Regions from separate parts of the Homo sapiens genome. Here region 1 is linked to region 2. The links are contacts of gene promoters, found by promoter capture Hi-C in human tissues and cell types (Jung and others, 2019). All regions are on one chromosome and are shown on one strand. Each heading gives the region's core, a stretch centred on a gene start or on the middle of the fragment in contact. The rest is flanking DNA. Distances are from core to core; before and after follow the strand shown. Region 1 has its middle 92 kb from the start of RFX6. Region 2 holds the start of FAM162B (family with sequence similarity 162 member B).

Evidence for each region. Contacts are between HindIII fragments. The study calls those that stand out against the background at their distance.
Region 1: a contact is called between a fragment that was not itself captured here and the fragment with the promoter of FAM162B in region 2, in 1 of the 25 tissues and cell types used here (thymus).

Annotation. Positions count from the first base shown.
Region 1 is chr6:116,966,617-116,972,137 of GRCh38, reverse strand. No RefSeq gene overlaps it. Among named protein-coding and RNA genes, the nearest start is that of RFX6, 92 kb to the right of the region's middle. The HindIII fragment of the contact is 4,188 bases long and covers 1,001-5,188 here.
Region 2 is chr6:116,761,842-116,767,176 of GRCh38, reverse strand. FAM162B (family with sequence similarity 162 member B) reads left to right here and starts at 1,458. Exons shown (of 4, transcript NM_001085480.3): 1 at 1,458-1,772; 2 at 1,922-2,030; 3 at 5,092-5,200. The coding sequence starts at 1,601. It overlaps LOC105377963 (a long non-coding RNA gene), which reads right to left and starts at 809. Exons shown (of 3, transcript XR_942910.3): 1 at 638-809; 2 at 456-534; 3 at 1-111. RefSeq lists an enhancer at 1,923-2,437. The HindIII fragment of the contact is 7,101 bases long and covers 1-3,680 here.

The sequences.
Region 1 (5,521 bases), core at 1,845-4,344, 200 kb before region 2:
AGAACTTGCTTTATTTGGTCATTACTTAACAGAAAGTTTAGCCTCACATTTTCATTTCTGGTTACACATTAGAATCACCTGGGGACCTTTTAGAACAGTCTCCATTCCCATCCCCCAGAAACTCTGATGTATTCATCTACGTCCTGGGCATTAGTAGTTCTTATGCTTTCCTGGAAATTCAAATATGCATCATTTTAAGAAATGCTAGTTTAGGCAGAGAAACAAAGTATTAACAATACCAAAAAAATTGTATCCCAGTCCCCAGAGTATCTAGCACACCAGTGATCACCGGTCTCTTTCTGTTCTGCAATACCATTTTCAGGGACCTGGCTTCTGACCCCCCAAACTCCCTGATTAGCCATTGGCCAAGTTATTACATAGGCACAACTAGGTATAAACATACCGACATAAAGAAACACAGTATTATACATTCACAACTGCAGAAAAAAAAACAAAAAACTTTTCCTTCCAATTCCCCTGCATCTCAACTTCTTGCCAACTTCCAAACAAAAAAAAATAGCTTCATTCATTATTATAATTCAGAAGGCTTTAAAACTGATGACAATGCTGTTGGGAAGAAAGGGGAACAAAAATGGGAGGATGGCATTAAAAACAGGAGTGGGAGGTCTTTTTTATCTTGTGTATGTTTCCTGTCCTCCCCATTGCAATATAATTTTAATAATAAAGGAATTTTTGTCTGTTTCAGGACAATGCCTGGCACATAGTTAGCACTCACAGGCATTGTTTAATGGATGAACAAATAAATGAATGAATGCATGAATGAGTAGGTTTATGTTTGAGACTGGGTGAGAGAGAGAAAAAATAGAAATAAATATTTAAGGCTTTGGGAGAAGGAACAGGTAACTTCCCACTGAAGGAAAAAAGATACCTATCCAAATGAAAGGTTGAAAATACATATCACTGTAAAAAAGGGAAAAAAATGGAATAAGAATAATGGAAAAGCAAATTTATAATTAATTGGTAGAAACCTGTGAATTGTGTCAAAACCCAACTATTCCAAAACTGACCTTAAAGGTCATTTAAAGACACATGATTAGAAACAAAATTAATTAGTCACTTTTGGAGGGTTTTAGGGAACCACCTCATTATTTTGATAATTAGTAAATAGAAGGTAAAAATTAGTAACTTGTCTTTCCTACACAAACTATATCACTGGGTAACCAAACATAAGTATTTTTCTGTAGAATAGTCCAGTTATTAAGTACATAAGAAATTATTGAATTAGCATATCATTACTATCATTATCTTCCAACCCACAATGAATGAATTAATTGTTTAGGCATTGAGCATCAACAGCTGCTAACAGGACAAAGGAGTAATCATCAGACTCTTGATACCTCTTGATAGACGAACACACCACTACCTATAAAGTAATCTTGCTTAAAAAATTCAACCTATTTGGCAAGCCTCTAGGCTCAAATACCAATATACAGAGGACAAAAAAAAACTTATTAAAATATACAGAGGTGCAATCAGTAAAATCCAGAAGAAGGAAATTCTATGGGACAAACAATCTGGCTTCCTCAAAAATAATTGCAAAGAAAAGAGAGTTGGAGAAGAAATGTGTAGATTAAAATGTCTTAAAATACATATCAATGAGGCACAATTTGTGAACCTTACTTTGAAATTAATTCAAACAAATTATGAAAAATCAATGATTCATAGGGCATTAGAATTTGAACACTTACTGGATATTCTATATTAAGAAATGTTAATTTTAAGTCTAGTAATAATATTATAGTTATGTTCATTCTATATAGTGAACTATATATAATAGATATTATATATTAATTAATATAATATATTAATATAAAATATATATTATATATTAATATAAATATATAAATATATAATAACAGTATATATAAATATATATTAATCTGTATATAATTAATGAATAATAGTCTAGTATGTTTTAGAATACATACTAGAACATTTATTAATGAAATAATATGTGTGATATATACTTGAAAATAATGCTACAGGAGAAAGTTAGACACTGAGGATTGGACCTGTGTCAATAACTGTTGAAGCTGGGTGGATGAGTGTGTGGAGGGTGGTACTATCTTTTTCACTTTTGTATAGGTTTGAAATTATCCACAATAAAATTTTTAAAATGATCCCATGATAAAAGCTTCCTGATTAAGATGGAAAGAGGAATTAAGGAGGGATGTTTATGACAAACTATTTTAGAAATAAAGAATAAAAATGCTTTTAATAGATTTTACCTGCCCGTGGTGAGCTGTTCAATCATTCTTACTGTTTTTCTCTGAAAGTTTTTAAAATAATGCAATACTTGCCATTGAAGCCAGCATGCCGAGAGCATTTCCATTTGCAATGAGAAAGAAGGAAGCACTCACTGTCCTTGCTGTGAGATTTACAGAAAGAGAAAGGGGAGGAGAAGTTGCGCAAGTCTTGCTGCTGTAGTACATGCAGAATACTTATTCATTATTTCTAGGAATACTTACATATCAATGCTATCAAGGTGTCTACAGCTGGGACCTTTTGCTTTTATTTTTCTTTCCTATGGAAAATAAGTTATGCTGGATTTTCTTTTTTATCTAGCAATATAAACAGTCAGAAATATAAGAGTTGGCCTTGTTCTCCCCATTCCATCAAAATGGCATTGCGTACTTCAGTGCAAGTGCTTAATTCATAGAGAGCAGGTTAAATGAATGATTTGCAGTTTATGAATCTGGGAATCTACTCTTGTAGATCCAGCAGGGGGAGTAGTGAGCGTAGATTTGGCTTCTCAAAAGAGGATGAGGCTATTTGAACCAGACAGATTGTAGATATACTGTTCTCTTATTAACCTGTTTCTTACTTCACCTCTATTTTATAGACTCTGACTCCTGATTGATAAGTGAGTATCTATAGCAGACCTGTTTCGTTCTTACCCCACTGTAATACAAAGATTATTCTGATAATATGCAGCCAGGGGGCATGAATCCAAGATTCTCCTTTTTGTGGTCTAAATTTCTCTTCGGAGCTAGAAAATTCCTTTGAATTTTCTCCCCTTATTTAATTCTCCCATAGCTTTTCCCACTTCTCCATTTCTGTTTCCTCAAAGCCTGACCAACAGTGAGGTAGAAACCATTCTACTTTCGATTAAGGACAGAGATTCAGACGGGAAAATAGTCTCTGCTGTTTCCAACCCATGTCCCTTTACATACCCCCATGATAAATTTGGGACTACAAATCTCTCCCAGAGAGGCCCCAGACAAGTAAACCAGTTGCACCTTCCCATACATTCAGGCATCAAAGCACAAGGGATGCCTTTTGCTCAGAACTGAGGGGCAATTAGCTGCATTGGACAGGGAGAAGCACTAGGCACCTTTTCTACTTGCTGCCTTTGAAAATGAACCAAGCCACAACAAGAAAGGCTTAAAGGGACCCTAGTAACAGCTGATCCACTTTGGCCTAGCTAGTAACACTCTAAGAACACAGCAGCCCAGCTGTTTTCAAATCCTCATTCTATAAAAAGCAAGGGAGTCAAGCTTAGCTGCCTCAGTGACAGTGAGTGAGGGTCAGCTCTTCTGTAACATCAGCTGCCTCCTCAACTGATCCTTCTTCCTGCAGGACACAAGGAGAAGAAAACTCAAAACGATGTACCTCCATTAACATAATTGTTATTGTTTAGCACAAAGTAAACTTGTCCTCACAGTCTCTCTTGTAGAAAGAATTCTTGCATCAGAAGATCTGTACCCTACATTAGTGCTTCTTACACTTTGGTTTACATAGGACTCACTTGGAGATCTTGTTGAACTGTGGTTATGGAGGACGGCCAGAGATTCCAAAAGGGCTCAACCTGGCTTTTCAAAGTGTGGTCCATGGATTAGCCCCATCAGCATCACCTAGGAGCTTGCTAGAAATATCAAAGTGAAATAGTGCTACCATTTTTCCCCTTTATGTTCAAAGATCCCTGATGCTGAGGCAATCATAATCATAATAGTAAAATAATAATAAAAATAATAGAAAAATAGTAATAGTAAAATAATAATGATAATAATAAAATACCGTTGATGAGTGCTTACTGCATTAGTCATATGCAATACATATGACTATGTAAATAGTCAGCAACTATTTATATAATAACTCTAATGCAATTATCATAGTCCTCAATTTGTGCATAAAAAAACTAAAGCTCAAAGAAGATAATTTATCCAAAATCACATAGATGGGAAATGTTCCATCCAAATCTATTCAGCTGCAAAGCCTGGACTCTCTCTTTGCCACTCCATGCTACCATAACTGAGATCTTTCATCCTACCACTAACCCACCACAACATTCCCTGACTGCTTCCCCAGACTCACCCATTGCTTGCTCTTCCCACTGATTTTTTTTTCATTGCTCTTGCTTAGTTTGCAACATCTGCATATGATTTTCTGCAATACAGGTGGTTAAGAGTGGTCATTCATTCTTAGGGCAGTTTCTCTGTACTTGGTTCAGTTGGGAGAGATCATTGTACCTTTTGAGTTTACCAACTGTCCAATCTTTATTTTAGAGGAAACAGGTTTCTTTCTGTAGTGTTTTACTAAGGCATTTAATTTCATTTTATTCACGTTCTATTTCCCTCTATTTGTATTATCCTTTATAAATGTAAATTTTAATCTTGCAATATTGGATTAAAGATAGTTTTCCTGTAATCCATTTGCTGAGGATGTGTTTGATTTTCTTGTGATTCATTTTCTAAACAAATGAATTGCTTGGCTGAAGACGTCACAGATTTGTATGAGTGGGCTGTGACACTTTTCCCTCGTCTTCTCAAAATGCCTGTATACACTTATCCAATAAATATGTTTTCAGCACATGCTACATGCTAGGCATTGTGCTTGGCTTAGATATATAGTTTTAGTGAAATATGCATAGTCTTACCTTCATAAAGTTTTCTTCAGTTATGGTATCATGTTAAACTAGCTTCAATTCTTATGGCCCTTTGGGTATGACAGCATTATAATCTCAAGTGAAAATCCCAAAAAAAGCAGTAGATTTAAGGTTTTGCATGGAGCATGCTATAGTAGAAAGAGTAGATTCGAGGTTTACAGACCTGCCCTATCTCTCCGTTGTTTCTTCCCTCCCTCCCTCCCTTCCTTCCCTCCCTCCCTTCCTTCCCTCCTTCCTTCCTTCCTTCCTTCCTTCCTTGTATTCATTTCATTTCTTTGCCCTTCCCTGTACCCACTCTCTTACTCACCAAATATGTGCTCAACACTGGGCTACATCAGGAATCCGGCATAAGAGGTTCCTGTCTTGACAGAGCTCTGAGTCCAGTGGGGGAAGGCAAATACTGGTCATTTTAGTGACTCTGAGTTGATGAAGGAGAAGTGTAAAGTGCCCTAGGCACAGGTCATAAGCAGGCCTGTCTCAGTCTGAGTCTAAGATATAGAAAAGGTAGGTTCTGATTAAGCTACCAACAAGTTGTATGATAAGCCATTCAAGTTCTCCAGGCTTTGTTGTTGTCGTTTTAAATCTGTTAATATAGATGTATGTGGGATGGAGTTG
Region 2 (5,335 bases), core at 209-2,708:
CACCTTGTTTTATTTTTCTTCATCTTCACCTGATGTCATCACTGCTCCATCCCCAGCTCTGAGAGGTAGCTGGCACGTAGCTGGTTACTGGTAGTCATTGCATGAATAAACCTAAAAGATAGGAATTCTGGTTTTACAAAAGAGACCAAGACTTATAACTTAAATGATTTACTGCTCATGATTGTGCAACTTTTAAGTCACAAATCCGGGATTTAAACCTAGGTGTGAAGGCAAAGCCCATGTTCCTTCTGCAAGCGCTCCTCTAAATGTATGTCTTCACAGAGCTATTAACCCCTCTTTTTTTGTTTAACACGGTTATGTAAAAAGAAAAAAAAACTGAGCTGGCAGTTACAGAAAAGTTATAGCTTTCAAGAGCCTGACAGTCTAGTTAGGAAGCAAAATATCTAGAAATCCAACAAGTGCAAAGCAGTGTCTAGATAAGGAGGGAAACTCACAGGCAGTAATAGCAGAGGAGGGTGAGCTCGGCCTGGTGCTGGGCTGATGAGCACTTTGACTTGGCAGGAGGTCTGTTGTCTGTGGAACAAGATAAGTAAATTGCTTGTACAACCCTTCTCTCCAATCATTGAATCTGAATCCCTGTTACCATTTAATGCCTGAAAATAGTAGATTCTTTTACCTTTTAGCATAGAGGAGATGGTGGAAGGTGACAGAAGAAAGGCACATTTTGAAGGGAGTGTGGAGAGTTTGTGGGCTAAGAGATGAAGAGGTAGGAAGCTGGCATGGCGGCTCATACGTGTAATCCCAGTGCTTTGGGAGGCAGAGCCCAGCTGATAGCTTGAGGCCAGGAGTTGGAGACCAGTCTGGACAACATAGTGAGATCCCATCTCTTAAAAAAAAAAAAAATAGCGGAGCGTGCTGGCGCACGACCAAAGCCCTAGCTACTCTGGAGGCTAAGGTGGGAGGACTACTTGAGTCCAGGAGTTCGACGTTACAATGAGCTATCAGCATGCCACTGCACTTTAGCCTGAGTGACAGAGCCAGAGACTGTCTCTGAAAAGAAGAAGAAAAGATAGAGAAAGGCACTTGGAGGAATTGAGATTGTTTTCCGTAGGAAAGAGAAAAGGTATGGGGGTGGGAGACGATGAGGTGAGGAGCTAACTTCAAGAAATCTCATCCAGAAGTTAGTGGAGTGCCCTTAACACTTAATTGGGAAATGTCTTCAGTTTCCTGCACTTGAAGGATTGTTGTCTCTTCCTGGAAGAGAGGATTTAGATTTATTCTCCTGGGGAACAAACGATGGAATCAAAGGCTAAAAGCCTGGCGGGAATACATTTCTACTCAATACAAAGAATTTAAAAGGAGCTACACGCACTGCCTCAGGCGGTGGTGAGCCTGTTTCAAACAGAGGCAGGCTGCTTCCTGAGGAACCAGCCCCTCGGGGCTTGACGCCCTGATCCCGGGTCGCTGGCCGGGGGCGGAGACGGGGATAGCGAGCTGAGTGTGCGAGCGCCAGGGGTTCCAGCTGCACGTCCCAGGCTCTCCAGCGCGCGGCAGGCCGGGGCGGGACGAGGAGAGCTGCGGGGACAACGCCTGTGGCTGGGTCCGGAGGTGCGGGTGCGGCGCGGGACAAGCGGGCAGCATGCTCAGGGCGGTCGGGAGCCTACTGCGCCTTGGCCGCGGGCTAACAGTCCGCTGCGGCCCCGGGGCGCCTCTCGAGGCCACGCGACGGCCCGCACCGGCTCTTCCGCCCCGGGGTCTCCCCTGCTACTCCAGCGGCGGGGCCCCCAGCAATTCTGGGCCCCAAGGTCACGGTGAGCCAGGGCTCCGACGGGGAGGTCCTGGGAGGGAGGAGGTTGCGGGAGGGCAGCGAGGGGCCGGCCCGGGAGTCGGCTTGAGGGCGCGCTGATCCTCTGTGCCGGTGCGTCAGTTCCCGCGTCCATCTGGGTTGCTTTCGCTGCAGGGGAGATTCACCGAGTCCCCACGCAGCGCAGGCCTTCGCAGTTCGACAAGAAAATCCTGCTGTGGACAGGGCGTTTCAAATCGATGGAGGAGATCCCGCCTCGGATCCCGTAAGTGTGGCGACCGCCGCGCGAAGGAGAGTCGGTCCCCGGCCGCAAGGGTGCGGGGTGACCCACCTTCCGACCGCGGCCACCTAGGAGCGAAAGCGGCCGCAGTGCCAACACTTCGCAATATCACCCACCACACACGGAGTTTACCCACACACACACCCCGCCTCCAGTGCGGTGTGTCAAGAGTCAATTAAGCTTACAGGGAGATTGCAGAAGGTGGGTGAAAACTGAGAGGTTCAGGGGACACTTCCAGCACCGCCCAGATTGCCGGTCCCCAGCAAGCTCCGAACTGGGAGGCAGTGGGGCTCTTGTGCCAAACAGGCCACGGTCCTCGCGAGCATCCGGATGGCTGCCGGGACGCCAGACCGCAATCCAGGCTTTGGCCGGGGGCGTCCCCCTACCCCACCCAAGGAAGGGGTTCTCTGATCTTGGCTTGCGGGGCGGCTGTGGCGGGGGGGTCTCTGGAAAAAAGACGCATCCATGCGGCCTCCTCTTCTGGGGCAGGAGACGCCTGGCGGACGTGTTTCTGCAGCCCTCTAGGCTCCGGGTTTACTCAGGGTGGGACGCGCGGGAGTGTCAGCACTGTGGGCCTCTTCAGCATGCTAAACCCACCAAGACAGATGATAAAACTCAAACTAATAACTCCCCCTCTAAGGTAATGTAACCTGTAAAATAAATGCTAATAATAAGTAAATGTAACCTGTAAAAAAATCTTTCCAAAGTTTCTGTTTCTGCCAAGCCCAAAAACCTTCGCAGCATTTTTACAAGGGATTGGGTAAAAAAGAGAGGGACGGAAACTAAAAATAAAATCAATCTACTACTTTTTAAGTTTATCTTTTAAAAATAAAAGACTAAAACCATAACGTGAAAGAAGGATTTTAGATATTCTGTATATTTGTACAATGTAATGAATGCCTATTAGAATGGATAATGGAAACTGGGCCTATATTTCTGTTTTTCACATGGTGCCTGCCATGTTATTGTTTATAAACAATTGCAGTTTATCAGTTACCAAAGCATCTCAGATAGCTAGGGGGTGGGGTGGGAGAACATGGCAGGAAATGTACACTCAGTAATGAATTCTGAAGCATTTTCGTTCTTTTATTGGAGCAAGTCACCAAATGAGAAATGGACATGGAATTTGAAATAACACTGCATTTGAATCCGTTTTCAGTATTTATTCAACTACAGAGGCACTTTCTAAGATTATTTTTCCTCGAGATCTATAGACTCCAAACTACAGACTTAGCTGAAAGCAAAAGTTAGCCTCAGAAAAGTCTTTATCATCATAAGCTCTGGTTATCAAATTTTAATTGATGCCTGAAAATTTAATACTATAAATGCCAAAGAAGTAAAAAAAAAAAAAAAAATTAAAATAAGTAAGCCACCACCCTCAATTGGTTTGAATTTTTATTTCTAGTGGCCTAACCAAGTAATCAAGAGTGTAAAGAACCAACATTATTGCATATTGTTTGTCAAGAAAACCTATGCCCAGTATTGCATTTAACATAGCTGTATTTGTGAACAGACTCATTTTACAGAAATAATGTAATTTCCCCAAGATCATAGTCAAAAGATGTATTATAAACAGGAGCATTTCACTAAGAACAGGATGCCTATAAAAAGCATTGCAGTTTTGCATTGGAAACATAAAAGTATTTGAGTATTTTTCATTTTATTATTTTTCTATAACTTTTTAAGCATTACTATTTAAGAGAGATATTCCTGTTAAGCTAAGTGTCACACTTACAATGTAAACAGCTTTTACCTTTTAATGGACATATAATGAACAAGTGACCTATAATTTTTGTATCATACACTAATTGTGTTTAATAATAACTGTACTTTGTCTTGTTTTTCTCAGTGCTAAACTAATTTGTTATAATAGATTAAAGCCAAATGGCTGGGTAAAAAAGATCAGAGCTTCTAGGTTCCATCTGGAACAAAAGTTAGCAGCAAATATAATCTAATAATTTCTCCATACTCACTAATTGGACCTGTTTGCAACTAACATCTTAAAACTTACATCACTCTGCCTAAAATCTAAAGAAAATAGGCTAGATAGGAGTTTTCTGTAGTCTTTTAACCAGTGGAAAATTTAAAAAGTTTTCTGTTTTTAAGAGAAAATGCAACTTTGTCTTTCTGGATTTTTTTTTTCAATGTAACTACACTCTATTTAAACTGCACATAGAGAGGAAAGAATACCAATGAATATATTATAATGAATGAAATTCTTTAAATATGCATATTTATAATCTGCCACTTCATATCATTGAAAATTGTTAAAGTTTATTTCAACGTAAAAGTCCCACAGGCATGATGCCTTTTGTATTACTACTTTGTAAGTAGTATTATTAAAATCTTGGACAACATGCATAAAACTATGAATGAATATTTAGAATTTAAGTATATCAAATTTCAGTATAATAATAACATTAAAATGAAGGTCTCTTTTATCTTTTTCCTCGGCAAATTATTGTGATTTTGATCACGTTTAACAAAAAATTATTGCAAAAGCCATGAAGGAAACATTTTTCTAACAGACATTCTCACAAGCTGGATAATAGTGTGTCTTTTGGGGGTAGCATGTGAAGGGACAAGAGATTGGGAGGCGAGTGAAAAAAACAAAATGATAAAAATGAGTTTTAAAAAAAAAACTGTTCAAATGGAAAACAAAGCCTACTTTACAAAGAGGCTAAATAATTGCAAGTCATCAACATACATATGCTTTAACTCTTCCTTTACCCCACTTAGTGAATAAAAACAATGGAGAGTCAAGTTAGCATCTCTAGTAGTTATATTTTGAGGAATTAGAAACTAATATTCTATACAGTGGTTTCATAATGGCTAACATTAATTTAAGATCTGAATAAATACTTGTTAATTTGAAATTGGTAAAAATAACTAGCTAGCATTTCAAAGTCTTTCACATGAAAATGTCACCAAATGCAGTTTGCATTCAGGGAATTTTTTGGAATGTTTACATGGCAAATTATCTATCATGCCTGTCAGAAAACCATATTACTTTTACATATTTAACAAAATACACATCTTTGTTTAGGCCAGAAATGATAGACACCGCAAGAAACAAAGCTCGAGTGAAAGCTTGTTACATAATGATTGGACTCACAATTATCGCCTGCTTTGCTGTGATAGTGTCAGCCAAAAGGGTGAGTATCTCCTTAAAAGGGCAAGTCAGTTAAAAGGGTAAGTACCTCTTTTTAAGTACCTCCCTAAAAGAGTATCTCACCAAAAGGGTGAGTACCTCCTTAGTCAGCCCAAAGGGTGAATTTTAAGAAATGTCA